2 separate regions of the Homo sapiens genome follow, and region 1 is linked to region 2. The links are contacts of gene promoters, found by promoter capture Hi-C in blood cells and fetal thymus (Javierre and others, 2016). All regions are on one chromosome and are shown on one strand. The core of a region is centred on a gene start or on the middle of the fragment in contact, and the rest is flanking DNA. Distances in the headings are between cores, read along the strand shown.

Region 1 (4,037 bases), core at 209-2,708, 1.2 Mb before region 2:
AGATACAGGACTGTTTGAATTCTTTATTTTTATTGAGGTATAGTTAATACCTTAGTACAAAACCTTATGTATGGAAATTACTCAGTGGACCACCACTAGAAGTTGAACTTGCCAGAAAACACTTGTTCTTCCAAGTCAAATCATTGAAACAAACTGCCTAAAGTGGAAACAGAAGCAGAATTAAACTGAACTAAAATGATTAATAAATTCAGTGGGGCAATGGTTTCGCTTCTTTTTCTAATAGGTCTACTAGGTTTAATAGGTCTTAAAGAGAAAACTCAAGGAGTATAGTTATTTTCACGTAGTTTCTCTTTGCCATAAATCAGTAGACAATAAGAATGATACGACCTAGAATGGAAGTTTCCCTGGGGCTGTGTATAGTACACAACATACATTCTGGAACGTGCCAAGTCCTGTTCTGCATACATTATTTAGGAAATTGAGATTAGCCCAACACTCCATTTTCAAGATAGCTTCTAGTGTTCTGGATGAAACCGTTAATATGTGGGCACTTTTATTTTCTTTCACTGAGATCCCAGGAAACAGTATGTGGGCACTTTTAAAGCCTGTGTTTCATTAGCCAGATTAAGAACTACTGCTAAACATGCAGACTGCCTTCCATCCCACGGAGATGGGGAAGTGATGAAGGAGGGACGTTATGCTGAAGAAGGAGGCAGACAGCTGCCATTAGAACTCTGGGTGGTGGTTCGTGGAAGAGACTTAGAGTGCTGCAAGGCCATACCAGCAATTTCTAGGCCCAGCTTTTGGGGACTAGTTATGAGCCCCTTGGTTAAAGGGGCTGTCAAGGAAAAGAACAAAGCTATTTTTTAAGGACCCATTGAATGCTAACTGCTTACAGTCAGGCAGTTGAATGTTACTCTGCTATCATGTATGCCTAAGTGATGGCAGCCTTCCACTTAAGGGCAGGAGACAACTGTGATTCTTGACAGCAGGGGAGCAGGCTGTTAGCTTTGGGAGCAAAAGAATGAAGCACAGCATCTCACTACCACTTTCTTGAAAAGGAAACTGAATATGATGATTTGCTAGTTTGGGGAAAGGCCAAAGAATCCATTTTTAAATAGCTCTGTCAGTGATTTTTATGTGCATCCCTTATCAAAACGTCTGCCTCCAGGACACGTGGAGATAAGAAATCAAGAACCTAGAGTTTCTTAAGCTTACCTGATAATAAGAGTCACCTGGAGATAACTACAAATTGGATTTCCAGGTTCTCATTACAGCTGCTCAGAATCAGAACTGCCCATAGAGGGGCCCCTAGCAAGTGGTATTTACCATTGAAAGATTTAGGAGAAACTCTACAGGGCATCTAAAACTGATATGTGCTTTATCACCTGGGTATTGTTAAAACATGCCTGGCCTCCATCTCCAGATGTTCTCGTTCAGAATGTCTGGAGTGGGGCCCGAGAATGTGCATTTCTAACAAGCTCCATAGAGATGTTGCCAGTCCCTGGACCACACTTGAAGTAGTGCTGCTCTACCAAATAAACTTAGGAAGAGCCAGCTCTTGGCCCTGCCTTTGGTGTTGAGAATGACCAGAAAACAGACATATTCAGTCATTTTCCTCAACTGAAGTGTTCTTTGGGCTCACACACTGAATAAAACTTTGGTGGAGAATGATGGCTTAGGGAAATCCAGGCATTTTTTACAGACCCCAGAAGTCCCACTTGAGTTGTGCCCCGGTAGCCTCTTAAACATGCCCTTGAGGGTCAGCATCAGGTTTTTTAGCAAGCTTCCCAAGCAACTCTCCCATTCCTGCAAGTCTGGGGAGCTCTTGTGTGTATAAAAACTTTTTAAATAAGTAGCCAACTGCTCACTGACTTTCTTACCTACTGGTTTTGCTCTGAGACATTTGCATTTATTGATTGATCCAGTAACTTCAATGCATGTTTCCACTCAGAGTGATCTTGCAAATTCAGGACATCCTGTGTTTTTCCAACTTTGCTGACGACATTAAAGATGCGCTAGATTTGAGTCTGTGCTGACTTGGAATTCCCACTTCTTTCCTGGTCATTCGTTTACGCTTTGCTTTCCGCTTCCCCTCTTGCGAGGGAATCAGAGAGATATGTCTGCAGTTAGCCCCATGTTCCTCAGATGGGCTGCTCTTAGAGCTCTTGCTTTTCTTGTTTAGATCAGTGGGTCACACCCTGCAGTTCATACCAGAACCCTGAGGGATACGTGCTAAGATGCGGATTTCTGGGGCTGACACCGACGTTCTGATTCCATTTTCTAGAACAGGGCCAGGATCCACATGGGTGACAGGCATCCTGCCCCACCCCATGGTTCTTACAGAGGCAGCGTTCAAAGCCACACTCTGAAGAACCCGCCTTCAAATTTGGGAATTCTTTGATTTGTGAGTGCAGTGGAAGAAGACCATTTAAGAGATGGCTTGGCAACCAAGAAGGGGATATGAGGGACCAGCTTCCTCTCACATTGCAATACAAGTGCTTCCCATGAAAAGAGAAAGTTAACAGTATTGCAGAATGCACAGGTTAATCCCTGACATTAACAGTGACACACACTTCTCTCTTGGTTTTTCTTTTCTGGAATGAAAAAAGATCTGAATTTATTATGTATGAAATAGGGATGAAGAAGGAAGGTGGTTCGAGTCTGAGGAAACATAGACTTACTGACTTCACATACCCAATCATCAAAATTTTGGTGCCATCTAATTATGTATTGTCTTTTATGTTCTTTTTAAATTCTTGTTCTTTTATTTTTCCCAAAGTATTTTCGTGGGACCTAGATTGCCCTCTACTGGCCTGCCCCAAAATTAATCAGTTGCCAATCTGACCAATTTTCCTGGTGGTTATATAGTCATCATATACATAAGCTGCATTTAAGGTCTTTCTTTCTCACATAGCATGCTGCTTAAACTATTGCTCCTTTAATAAGTTAGTCATTTTTAGCAAGTATTGGTGTCAAAGTGATATCCAGTAAATAGTATGTGATCTTTGGGAAAAGAACCAAATTCTTGTTCTTCTAATAAAAAGCGTGCTTGTGGATCAGCTGGCATAGTTACCCAGTGACTGTCAGTTTTACTAGGGCTGCATGTTTGCCCTATAGGAATTACCCAAACTCCTTGAACTGCTTGATGATCTGCAGTCTCACCTCAGCTTTCTGAAACAGCTGAAAAGGTGTAGGTCACAGTATTTCACCTTGGACATCAGCCCTAGAAAAATGCCGTATCTAAAGACAATAGTAAAAGTTATACAGTATAAACAACAGTATTCTTATGAGTAATGCTTAGAGCAGCTTTATAAGGTACAATTTACCTACTATAACATTCACCCATTTGAAATGTACAGGTTAATGGTTTTCGGTAAGTGTATAGAAACATGCAAATAGCACCAAACTCCAGTTTTAGAACATCTCCATCACACCCAAGAGTTGTGCCCATTTGCAGTCGACCCTGCTTCTACCCCCATCTTCAGGCAGCCACTAATTTGTGAGTAATGTTTTAAATTACAAAAATTGAGATATTTTAGTTAAGTGGAAATCATTATAGTTTCATTGATAAATAGCACTGGCATCATTAGCCATCCGTCTTGAAAAATATCCCAACTAACGTGCTCACCTCCATGAAACCTCTCTCCACGTCCTTACCACTCTGATAAGGTAGCTCCAGCATCTGTACTTTGTTCACTTCAGGCTCTCACCATATCCAAGTTTTAAGGGGCTATCCCAGCAACACATTAGGACTAGCTCCAGGTGTTGAATATTGAGTCACAGGAGAGTTCTCCCATGCCAATAAATTATCCAATTCAGCCTTAAATTTCTCTCATCCATCCCCATTTCAACACTCTTGAGATTCACTCCCACGAGTCTGCCCCTAGTCTCTGCCAGTACTTATGAGCCTGCTCTTCCTACAGTGCATAGACTGTTTCCCCCAGAGCAGGCACTGTGTTTTTCTGCTCTGGATGTACTAAGCTATGTCGCTTTATCAGCCCAGAGGCAGCAGGGGCTGACCTTGGGAAGCAGGACCCTTAGGTGAAGACTTTGCAAGGTCTTCAAGCAAGGGG
Region 2 (3,813 bases), core at 682-3,181:
AAAGAAGGCCTTAGTGGCTCATGCCTGTAATCCCAGCACTTTGGGAGGCCGAGGCAGGCGATCACCTGAGATCAGGAGTTCAAAACCAGCCTGGACAACATGGTTGAAACCCTGTCTCTACTAAAAATACAAAAATTAGCCAGGCATGGTGGCATGTGCCTGTAATCCCATCTACTCAGGAGGCTGAGGCAGGAGAATCACTTGAACCCTGAGGCATAGGTTGCAGTGAAGCGAGATGGCACCACTGCACTCCAGCCTGCGCAACAGAGCAAGACACTGCCTCCAAAAAGAAAAAAGAAAGGCGGCCTTAGAAAAAAAGGTTTTGCTTGGTAACATGTAGTCCTAGACTATACACTGCTCTGGCCCCACTTAACAAAGCTCAAAAGCAAGACCCACGTTTGTACATGATCTAGTTCAGTGAGTCCCAGTCCTAGCAAATGGCCAGAATCACCTTTAGACAGTTGACAGGGCCCACTCTGAGAGTATCAATTCAACGGCCTGAGCAACTGATAGTTTTCAAACTCCCTGTGTGATTCTAATCAGCAGCCAGAGTTGGGAACCATTTATTGATGCCAGAGATATAGAAGGTTGCTGATCCAGTTTTTAGAGTGCCCTTTAATTCTCCACACTACTGATACCATTTTTATATGCATGTGTCATATTTGCCCTTTTTTCAGATTTCAGGACACTAACATATTAAGCACAATCCATGTACCAGGACTCACATACATGATCTTAACTCTTACAATAGTCCTATGAGGTACGTATTGTTGGTACAGATGAGGCGACTATGACCTGGAGTTTAGTTACCAATCTAAGATCCCACAATTAATGACAGCCCAGGAAAGGTGACCTCAGAACCCTCTTGCCTGTTGCTCCTCTGCTGCCCACTCCCTGCCCCAGCCAAGCAGAAACCCAGCTGCCCTGGGAAGCAGATAGAAGGAGCCTCTAAGAGATCATGTGAGTGACAGCAGACCAGTCAGCCCGTGGGACTCTGACTAAAGTCCATGATTTCCCCCAGGACCACCTTTACTGCGCTTCCACCCAAAGATGGTCCTTAAAGGTTAGAAGGGAGACCTGGCAGGCCAGGCGACTGTGAAAGTAATGTTTTCATTATCCTTATTCAACTCTACACAATGTGGAACAAGTTTTACTAATACCTTATACTTCTCTGACAAAGTAACAATCTCTCTGAATGAGAAATTCAGTTATACTACAGGAATTCTCCTCCCATCCTATCACTTTCCCAAAAGGAGCAAGACTGGTCCCACTGGGCCAGGTGTTCTCCCTCCTTGGCTGACACTTTCTGGGCTTCAGGGAAGGGAGTGCAGACTGCGCGGTCACGCCCATTTTCAACCCTCCTGCAGTTCTCAAGTGAAGCGGCACAGAAGGCCCGAAAACAGCCACATTCGCCAGAACTGATGTGGCGTCCGCGGGCACAACGCTAGTTGACACAATTGTGGCTTAAAAAACGTAGCAAGTGGACGAACCCACCGTGATGCCGCCTGATGAAGCAGCTGGGGGAGGCTTCCCTTCCTCGGGAGTCTGAAAACCCAGGCTCCCCCAGCCTTGCCCTGGGCGTGGCCACCTTACCCGCAGGAGCACAGTTCACAGATGCACTTCGTCTTCATAGGGGCGATCCTGAGGCCCTGACGTCCCCTCAGAGCATCGCCAGCTGCAGCCGACTCCTAGACCCCAACCACCTGTCTTGGGGCACGCCCAGGCTCGAGGGTCTTGGCAGGTGTTCTGTTTACTCGAAGGAAAATTTAAGTGGCCCTTTTGCAATGTCCTGTCGTCTGTTGCCCTCCTGGAGCTGGCCTAGCGCGAGGTAGCAGCAGGGGGCTTGCACGCGCGCCAGCCCGGGAGACCTCACCCTGCACGCCACCGCCCCGGCCTCCGCAGTCCAGACTTAAGCACCTGGAGCGGCTGACTGGGCCCCAGGAAGCTGCGGGGTCCGTGCCCAGGTAGCCTCTGTGATGTCGCCAGGGCCAGGAGGGGCACGCCTCAGGTGGCAATTACATCACAAGAGCCGCTTGTGAGGTCGGGAAGCTCCCAGCACCTCACTGGCAGGCCCAGGACAGGGGTTCCCCGGTGAACCTTGGAAAAACCTGAAAAAGGTGGAAGTCACTAGAAAGCTCCTGGTGCAGTAAACGGTCACACGTGCAGAAAAGCTGAAAACTCCCTCACCATCACCTTGGGTGGCATTTGCTATCTCTAGGATCCATGGTGCCCCCTCTTAGGGGAATACAGCCTTGACTTCCAAAAGGCTTGCCTTGAACAGGGTTTCCAGATCTTCCTGTGGAAACCTAGGCCTTTGGCTTCAGATGTCTGTTAGAATTGCTCTCACCCACAGACCTGCGCTCTTGAGAACACAGTGGTTTAAGAGCGCCCAGGCCTTCACTGCTCAGGTGGGTTCTCAATCACTTCTCCAGATGCTGGTAATGATGCCTTGAAGCAGGCGTTCTCAAATTCTAGTTGGCATCAGGACCACCTGGCTTGATGAAAACCAGATTGCCAGACCCCACCCCCAGTTTCTGATTCAGTGTTTCTAGGGTAGGCCAAAGACTTGCATTTCTTACAAGCTCTCAGGTAATGCTGGTTCTGCTGGGCCACGGACCACACTTTAAGAACTACAGCTTTTGAGGTTCCTTTACACCCCCTGGAATAGTGTTTCTTCAGCTTACCTGATCCCGAGAGCACACCCCCACCCAGAAGTCTCCCTTGCATCAAAACCTCTAGTCCGGGAATCTAGCTTCAACAAGAAGCCAGGTGATTCTGGTCATGAAGCAAGTTCAAAAGACACTGCTCTGGCCAGTTGTTTGGACTTAAAACATTTTGACTTCCTGCTTATGGGAAATGGGAGCTTAAAGTATTGACAATCTTTATGCTTTTCTTTCCTATGCTTCCTAACTCTTTCCATTCATTTTAGTGAATGAGTCAGTCAGAGGCATCTTGGACTGCAAGACACTTAATATTCAGAGGGTTTCTTTTTGTGTGGGGGGGGTTAGGTTTTTTCCTTCAGTAATAGGCTCTAGAATAGAGGTCAGCAAACTATTGTCTGCAGTTGGCCACTTGACTCTATCTGGCCATTGAGCTAAGAATGGTTTTCATATTTTTTAATGGTTGAAAAAATTAAAATAATAATATTACATGACAAATGAAACTTACCTAAAATTCAAATTTCAGTGTCTGTGAATAAAGTTTTGAATTTTTTCAAAAAATTTGTGTAAACATTCCCGATTTTGCCTCTTGGCCCACAAAAGCTAAAATATTCACTATCTGACATTTTACAGAGAGAGAGTTCCAACCCCAGTTATAGGAAGTCAGCAAGGTAGATTCAGACAGGAGCAAAGCTTATTGATCATTCTTAAGAACAGTGGGGTGGGAAGCTGCTCCTTGCCTTCCCAGTAGGAAGTCAGAACTCTACAGGGGAGGATGGAAACATGGCCAGACAAAAAAGAGGTGGGAGCTATTGGAAGTCAAAGCAAAACCTGCATGCCATCCATTGCCATTGACAGAGAACATCACACAGTCCTTACAGAGGAAATACAGTGCTGGACACCAGCCTTCTCTTGATGGCTGCCTAAACATTATCCATAAATCTTTCAGCAGAAGAATGCCTGTTCATGCCCCCTGCCATTCAAACTGCCCTTGTGGGTGGCCACCTTGTCAACAATCATGGTACTCCCCACTTCCTCCATCCATGCCCTCAATAGAGGGTAGAGATCTTGAAAGATGAAGATGGTGTGGACAAAATAGCCTCAACAATGATATACCTAAAGATCAGTGCTAGACAGTAGGGACAACCTCCCC

The links. The method cuts DNA at HindIII sites, captures the fragments that hold promoters and counts their contacts. A CHiCAGO score of 5 or more calls a contact.
Region 1: a fragment that was not itself captured here is called in contact with the fragment with the promoter of SAXO1 in region 2 in 2 of 17 cell types (endothelial precursors and M2 macrophages); the score reaches 8.5 in endothelial precursors.

Annotation. Positions count from the first base shown.
Region 1 is chr9:17,799,669-17,803,705 of GRCh38, forward strand. No RefSeq gene overlaps it. Among named protein-coding and RNA genes, the nearest start is that of SH3GL2, 220 kb to the left of the region's middle. The HindIII fragment of the contact is 573 bases long and covers 1,173-1,745 here.
Region 2 is chr9:19,031,278-19,035,090 of GRCh38, forward strand. It overlaps SAXO1 (stabilizer of axonemal microtubules 1), which reads right to left and starts at 1,932. Exons shown (of 4, transcript NM_153707.4): 1 at 1,594-1,932. The coding sequence starts at 1,631. RefSeq lists enhancers at 1,254-1,807, 1,808-2,361. The HindIII fragment of the contact is 8,262 bases long and covers 1-3,351 here.